Regions from separate parts of the Homo sapiens genome. Here region 1 is linked to region 2. The links are contacts of gene promoters, found by promoter capture Hi-C in human tissues and cell types (Jung and others, 2019). All regions are on one chromosome and are shown on one strand. Each heading gives the region's core, a stretch centred on a gene start or on the middle of the fragment in contact. The rest is flanking DNA. Distances are from core to core; before and after follow the strand shown. Region 1 overlaps DHCR7 (7-dehydrocholesterol reductase). Region 2 holds the start of SHANK2 (SH3 and multiple ankyrin repeat domains 2).

Evidence for each region. Contacts are between HindIII fragments. The study calls those that stand out against the background at their distance.
Region 1: a contact is called between a fragment that was not itself captured here and the fragment with the promoter of SHANK2 in region 2, in 1 of the 25 tissues and cell types used here (pancreas).

What each region holds. Positions count from the first base shown.
Region 1 is chr11:71,441,748-71,444,612 of GRCh38, forward strand. DHCR7 (7-dehydrocholesterol reductase) reads right to left here. Exons shown (of 9, transcript NM_001360.3): 4 at 2,246-2,468; 5 at 516-606. Among named protein-coding and RNA genes, the nearest start is that of DHCR7, 5.2 kb to the right of the region's middle. The HindIII fragment of the contact is 6,551 bases long and covers 1-2,865 here.
Region 2 is chr11:71,250,746-71,255,882 of GRCh38, forward strand. SHANK2 (SH3 and multiple ankyrin repeat domains 2) reads right to left here and starts at 1,832. Exons shown (of 26, transcript NM_012309.5): 1 at 1,680-1,832. The HindIII fragment of the contact is 4,011 bases long and covers 787-4,797 here.

The DNA.
Region 1 (2,865 bases), core at 153-2,652, 190 kb after region 2:
AGGATGCCCCTGTGGTATGCCTGGCCCCCTCTGTAATTGTTGGGGAGCACCTCAGCCCATCCACCCCTCAAAACAGGGAGCTTCTGGGGGCAGAGTTGGGATGCGGTTCCAGTCTGCACCCACGTGAGAGGCACAAAGCCAGGCTCCTCGTGGGTTCTCAATGATGGCAAGGAATGAACAGACAAGGTCTCCCACGGACAGCCCCGAGGAATGGTGGTCTCTGCATGGTGGTCTCTGCAGGAAGCTTCATGGGCCGAGTGCATCCCCTGCTATGGGGCTGGGAAGGAGCTGGGCCATCCATTCCCTCCTTACCCAGGAAAGTGATTTCTAACCTGGGTGTGGGATGGCCCCAGCTGCCCTCAATGGTTTTGAGGCCTGGTGCTGTGAAAAATCCAAGCAAAATGGATTTCTATCCTGTGACAAGTCTTAGGGACAAAGCAGCGCTGGGGAGGACTGGCCCCTGAGAGAAAGGGATGAGAACGGGAGCCTGGGGAGGGTGGAAGGGAGGAGGCTACCTGCAGGAGTCACGGCCCCCTCCTGGATGCCTCCTACGTAGCCGGGTAGAAACTTATGGCAGAAGTCAGGGAGAGACGTGTACAGAAGCACCTGAAACACACAAGCAGCCTGATCACCCCCCGCCTGGAGGGCACCTGCAAAGGGGGACGCATAGCAGGAACATGAGAATCACAATCATAGTCTTTTTCTTCCTGAAGCACTTATGGCTCCTGGAAGCTCAAACTGCTGGGCTGTGGGTTTTGAAGGGGGTTCTGAGACAATAAACTCATCAACCAGGGAAGGTGCCAAGGCGTTCTCCCCCAGGGCTCCATTCGCCCCTCAGGAGAGCGCACAGGTCCCTCCCAGTCACCTTTTTAAAATGGAGAATCCCATAAAATTCAACTTTTTATATATATATATAAATCTATCTTTGAGATGAGGTCTTGTTCTACCACCCAGGCTGGAGTGTAGTGGTGCAATCATAGCTCACCGCAGCGTTGTCCTCCTGAGCTCAAGTGATCCTTCCACCTCAGCCTCCCAAGTAGCTGGGATTACAGGTGTGCACCACCACACCCGGCTAAAATTCACCCTTTTAAAGTGCACAATTCAGCGGCATTTAGCGCATTTACATGGTTGGTTGTACACCTATCACTGCTAATTCCAGAACTTTTCATCACCACAGAAGAAAATGTTGTTCCAATCTCCGGTCACTCTGAATTCCCTGTCCCTGCCGCCCCTGGCTGCCACTGAGCTTTCTGCCTCTGTGGATTTGCCTGTACTGGGTATTGCATATAAAGGGAACCACACAGTATGCAGCCTCTGTGACTGGCTTCTCTCGCTCAGCAGTGTCTTCAAGGGTCATCCGCCTACTGGCATCAGAGCTTCATTCCCTTCCGCTGCCAAATAGTGTCCCACAGTGGGCACAGTGTTCTGTTCTGTGGGTCCATTCATCTACTGATGGACAGGTGGGGGTTCCTGCTTTGTGGCTATTTGTGATTCACACTGCCCCTGTCATTTTTCACTCAAAGGGACCAAGAGATCTGAACTGAGAAGTATTCTGGAGCCCAGAAGCTTGGACCCTGGGGAGAAACAGCTAATCATGATCTGAGCCTTCCTCCCGCCCAGGAAGGAAAACCCAGGCCTGTCTCTTTCTAGCACCGTTTCCCTGGAAACCTTTTCCTGGGTTCAGGCAATCAGCACCACCCATGTGTGCACCAGGTTTACAACAACCCCTTCCTGGAACTCCCTCTGGACTGGGAGGCCAGTGGGGACACCATGGAGCTGAGGACGTCCTGGACCTGCCTCGACTGCCTGTGGGGAAACATGGCCCTCGCTTCTCTGAGTGGCATCTCATGACTGAGAGAGTCCCTTTGGGGACTGAGATGCTCCTTTCCAGACCTGGTGCAAGGCGTGACTCCTGCTGACAATGGGGCTTCCTCAGGACAGCACTGCCCTCCCACGGGGTTTTGCTCCTATCCTCAGCTTGTCCCTGCAGAGCTGGGCGTGCCCAGCAACTGCATGCAGGCATGCCGTGAAGGTGTATCAAACGCTGATGTGACAGGTGCCTCCTGCCTTACAGCTGAGGATGAATCTGAACATGTCAGAGTCCAGGGAATGCCCTGCTGGGTCCCGGGAACCCAGATGTCAACCTGAGCCAGGATCCATGTCCCAGACAAATGGAAGGACTACCCCAGCAGGAGGGCACGCTCCCCACCTGCTGTGTCCCAACCCCAGGGCAGGGGCTGCTGACCTGGAAGGTGACCCACAAGGTATAGAGCTGGGCGGCTTTCCTCGTTATAGGTGGAGTCTTGGCCCAGATGTCCGAGAGCCGAGCATGTCCGGTGACGATGTCCACCACAGGGCCAGTCAGGGCGCAGCTGTACTGGTCACAAGCCATGATGAAGTAGTAGACGATGAAGGGGGCGAACAGCAGTAGGAAGATGACGCTCGCCAGTGAAAACCAGTCCACCTCCCTGCGAGGACGGATGCAGGCAGTCACACTGGGGCCCATCTGCCCTGGGCCCCACCAGGACCCTAAGAGGCTCTGTGTGGGAGAACTGTTGCTCAAACCCACCAGTACCCCATGACAGAAGGCATTAGCTCCTAGCACGGGCCCTCCTTGCGGCCAGGGAAGCCACTCAACATGCCTGCTCTACTGTAGTTGATTAACTGGTGGCACTATCTGTGGCCCCCATGGAAGGCCCAGAGCTCAGAATATGAGCGGAGGTAGGTCTTTCACAACCACCAAGGCCAGTGGTTTCCCCAGTTCCAGGTCGGAGAGGATACTCACCCTGCACGAAGTCCCCATGGTTCTATGGCGAAATGGGAGCTGTGACAATAGGTCATACCCCCAGATGGTGGGAAGGCCCC
Region 2 (5,137 bases), core at 582-3,081:
AGGGCACCGGGGTTAAGGCTGAATCTGCCAGGTCCTTTTCCAGGGGCGCAGAACTTCCCTTGTGGCTGGGTCGGCAAAACCGAGGCCCACATCCCAGATAGAGATCAAATCGCCCTCCCCCACCGGGGGACTTCCGAAATTACCTCTCTGGATCTGGAAGCTTAATTAGCTGATTGGCCTCATTAACGTTCGAACTTGAGTTTCAAACGAAAAAGAGGTCACTCAACTATCCAATTTACAACCTCGAATTTCCACCCGAAAACCACTTTATTTTCGGATGGCCTCTGAGGACGCCCAGGCCCCTGCCAGCAGCTGCCAGCCCCCGAGAGCCTTACGTACTTTCGCCTGACCCCCCCACCACCCACCCCTCACCTGCCTGGCTCGAGCGCCTTCTCAGTTCCAGGCGCCCCGAGCCCCTTTAAAAGATCGGCTGCGAAAACCCACGGTCACCTGCACCACCCTTTCTCCCTCTGGGTGCTCCAGCCCCACGGAAAGGCAAGCCTCGCCCACGCGCCCACCCACCTCGAGCAGGGTGTCCGCACGCAGACCCGCCTGGAGGGCGCCGCGCTGCACCCCCACGCCAAGCCCCAGAACCCTGGCGGCGAGGTCCACCCCAGCCCCCGCATCCCCCCGAACCCGGGCGGCGAGGCCCGCTGCGGTGGTCGCACCTGCTGGCTCAGTCCGGCGGCTCCAGCCCAAGTGACGAGTGCGCTGTCGGCGTCTCTGGGAGCGGTCCCCGCGCCTGGCGCCCGGGGCCGGGGCCACCCGGTGGAGGCGCCTGGGCCGCGGGCTGGGCGGGCGGAGCTGCCCGGCCGCCGGGGAGGAGGGATGCCCGGGCGAAAGTTGCCAGGGAAACTTGATCAACTCGAGCGCGCCGGTGCCAGCTTCCTGCATAATTCACGGACGGTGGCGGCCGGGCTGCGCCCGCCGGGTCTCCCTATCCCAGCTGGTGAGCACGGCGGGCCGGGGTCGGGCACCCGGCTGTGGCTCAGCGCGACCCCCGGGACCTGGGCGCCCGACCCGCCACCCCCGGGCCCGCACCAGGCGCGCCGGCCCCGGCCTCTCCGCGACAGCTGCTGCTGCCGCCGCGCGCGCCTGGATGGGAGCTCTGCGTGCAGGGCCAGGGTGACCGCAGCGGGGTCTCGGGGGACCTGGCGGCCACGGTTCGGGTCTCCGCCCCCGCGCGCCACCTGGCGGCCCCGCGCCGGCTCCTCCGCTGGGCTCGCTGGCCCGGGTCCTAGGGCTGGCGGGCGGTGACCCGGGGCAAGGAGACCCCGGGAGAGCGGGGGAGGTCGCGCCACACGCGCTGTTCCAGAGGAAGGGGCAGGACGCGCCAGAGACTACGTGGTCCATGCGCGCAGGAGATAAAGCGGGGGCTCCTTCCTGCGCTCTGCCCCCACGCCGCTTCCAAAGCTTTCGACACCGGCCCCTGCCCGGGAAGAAAGGCATGCAGGGGGAAGGGCTCTCTACGGAAAATCGACCCCCACCTGGACACGCGGCTCACTCCCCCCAGCGCCCACCTCTCCAGCCTCTCTGGGTCCAGGACTGCGCTTACCCGGTAGTTGGTGCTCCCGGAATCGAGATGCCCCCAAAATGCCGTCAGTGAGCAGGATCGGGTGCCCAAGGGCCACCTCCCGTCCTCCCCGGCCCGCGCCCTGCGTCCCCGGCCGCCGCCTCACCTGGCTCGGCGAGTCGGGGGCGGGTCCGAGCCCCCCGGGAGCGCCAGCGTCCGCGCACACCTGGATCGGCCGCGGGAACCCGAGCGGCGCCGCGCCCAGCCCCGCCGGAGCTCAGGAGCCGCCGCCGCGGCTCAGGTGCAGGGGGTGGGGAAGGACCCGGCCCCGCCCGGCGCGGGAGCTGGCTCCGGCGAGGGTGGGGGAGGGGCCCTCTCGCCGCCGAAAGGACGCGTGCGGCCCAGGACCCGCGGGCGACCCGACCTGGACCCCCACCCCCGCCCACGCCGCGGACCTCAGTCCCCCGCCCCGACCCCGCTCCCGCCCGCGGCTGCGGCTCGGGCGTGCGCGTGGGGTCTGTTGTGGCAACCCCGGGAGACCGCGGGGCGCCCTGGCCGCCTCTGCCCCGCCCCGGGCTGCGTGGCTCACGGACCTCCCCCTCCCTGGCCAAAGCCGGCGGACGAGAAAGTCCCTGATTTTTGTAAAGTCCGGTTCGGTCTGCACGGTTATCCCGAACGCAGCTGGCTCCCGCCACAGAGTATTTATAATAATAGGATTTGGAAATAGAGGCTGCCTGCACATCAAAACGTTTGCAGAGCAAACGAAAACTTTGTACCCGGGTGATACGCCGGCGTCTGCTGCCCAGGCCACCAGTTCTGGGGCGCCTTCCGCCCAGGGGTGCACAACGGTATCTCCGCCAGCTGCCCTCCAAGCCAAGAAAAGCCAGGGGGTGGGGTGGGGGGAGCAAAAGCCAACGGCTCGGGTGAATCCCAGAGGCCAAAGGCACCCTCCGGAGACTCCAGGAATCCTGTTATTATCCAGGACTCCGGATTGCTAGGTTTGCGGAAGCCCAAAGGGGCGGGTCCTGAGCTTGGAGCTGTGGCCGCCGTGTGAGCCATCGGCTGATAGATTTTCTCAAGGCCTTAATCATTCACTGGGAGTCTCCCCCAGTACGAGCTGCGTGTTTCTGAGTAAGCTCTTGAGGTCTCTGTGTTCTGAGTTTTCCAGTATTCTGGAAGGTGTGGGTGGGGATCAGAGTCCAAGCTGTGGAGTAGAACTGTCTCCAGAACCCTGGAGCCCGGCATTATGCAAACCCCTAACTGTGCCCCCTACATAGAGTGAGTGTGTGTGTGTGTGTGTGTGTAAGTCAGTCTATCTTACAGGACATGCCTGAGAGGTTTGCATGGGCTGGTGACTTCAACATACCAAAGGCAAAGTTAAATATTTGCTCTAGATACTTTTTTTTTTCAGCTTGCATAATTGTCCCACATTTCAAAGAAGTCTTTAAAAGCACTTAGGTTAAAAAAAAAAAAGTTGTGTTTGGGGCCTGAATATTTCAGGACACACATGGAATAAATATTGTAACTCCTTGAGGGCAGCTGCCTTATGTAAATGTCTTTCTCGTCGCTGCTTCCTTAAGCATACACTTGATAAAATATTTGTTGAATGAATAAAGGAGTCAATCAATCAAAAAATAATAATCCCCAAAACAGGAAGAAGGACGCCCTGACAGGATCCTGCAGGCATCCTTTGTTTGGCATGGAAGCTGGGGTGCCTGGGAGAGGTGTGAGCAGGACAATCGGATGTTCTTTGGGTTGGCCGGTGGCAGATGCAAGACCTGGGTTGCAGGGAGTGGGGGTGGGGGCTCTACCTTTCCATAACAGTCCATCAGTACCCTCCCCACCAAAGAAGGCAAGTCATCTGAATAAAGTGGTGTATTTACCCTGCAAACCCAGCTCAAAGACCTATCCTCAGGATATTTCCCTCCTCTCACCAGATTCCCACCCCTGGAACACCCCTTCCTAGGTTTCTAGAACCACTGCTGCAGATAGACCAGGCAGCTGGTCACAGTTCAATTGTGAACATTTTTCGGCTATCTCCATGCAAGGTTTAAGACCGATGCCATTATGCTATCTCCAAGAAATACTTCCCTAGGGACGCAGGCCTCTGCCAGCCTTCCACCCAAGTGGACACCCCTTGGGCCATCCCCCTCCAGTCTTTCTGATCTGTTAGCCAACAAGAGCGCTGTGTGAGAGCCCCGACATTCGGCATTTTAAGGACAGCATCCTGCTTACGCCCCAGTTTCTTTGTGTCTGTTTAGAGATATCCAGTTCAGCCTTGTGCTCCGATGAAGCAACATCCTTCAAGTCTGTAAAAATCTCTTATGATCCCAAAACAAAGAAAATCAAGGTTACAGGTGATGGATACACTAATTTCCCTAATTTGATCATTACACATTGCATACGTGTATCAACATCTCACACTGGACCCATAAATACGTACAATTATGTGTCAACTAAAAGTATTGACAGCCAAAAAAAAAGGCTCTTATGAAAAGGTTCAGGGTCAGATAATGCTGCCACAGTGCCTTTATTCACATCTTAACGCTCTGAGCGGGCATCTCAGGTTGAGGGGAACACCTACCCCCCGCCGCTCATTTGAAGTAGGACCTCTTTTGGCATTCTAATTTCTGGGGGGCCCATAGCCACACACACCACCAAGTGCCTTGTTTTAGGTTCAGTTTAGGAAAAGAAGACATGACCCTCCTGGCTTCCTGGTTTCAGAACCCTCCGGTTTTGTTTCTGGAAGCTGCCTTCCAGGATTCACCAGGTTTTGCAGAAAGGAGTAAGCTTTTCCATCTGGTCATCTTGTCTTTTTTTCTTGTCCAACCTGAACCATGAAACCATCAGCCACATCTGTGGAGTACACGCTGTGTGGTCCTGAGCACGCTAGGACTTTCTGGGAAGAGTAACTGTTTTATAGAGAACTGGAAACTGGGACACCATACCATCAGGGATGTGAGATATAGCCACCTTTTTGGTCCTGGGGAAAACATTATAAATATTTTGTGGCTTAGATTAACCCAGATGCTCACTGCCTTCAGCAGCAGTCCCTTTCTCCCAGAGAAGCTCCTGGGTTTGGGGCTTAATGTATTAATAGTTGGAGGCCAGCACATCTTCAGAGAATGATTCTTAGACAGCCCGAGTGGGAGTGGCCTAACCCAAGGCAACCCTGTTATTTAACAGGTGGGAAGCTGAGGTCCAAGGAGGGGAGGAGACTCACTCAAGGGCGTGAGGTCAGAACCACACAGGCAGGTGTGCACAGGTGAAGCCAGGTAAAGGCAAGCACACACAGGTGAAGCCAGTTAAAGGCAGGTATGCCCAAGTAAAGGTAGGTGCTCTGGCCAGCAAGTCTGCCACATCCCCTCATCCCTGCCAGATTCTCCCGTGCTTTTGCCATTTTTTTCCTACTTGTTTTCCACTACAGCAAGAGGTCCACTTCCGTCCTGTTCCCGCCCATGTCAAATACTGGAAAATTCACTCATTTCTCCACAATTTTGTGACAACTTCTAATTCAATCACATAAACCTGATGCTGTAAGGATTCCCAGATTTTACATGTCCTCTCACTCCTGTGCAGAAGTGCCTCTCACGTCTCGCCTCTAGCTTACTGTGGATTTTTATT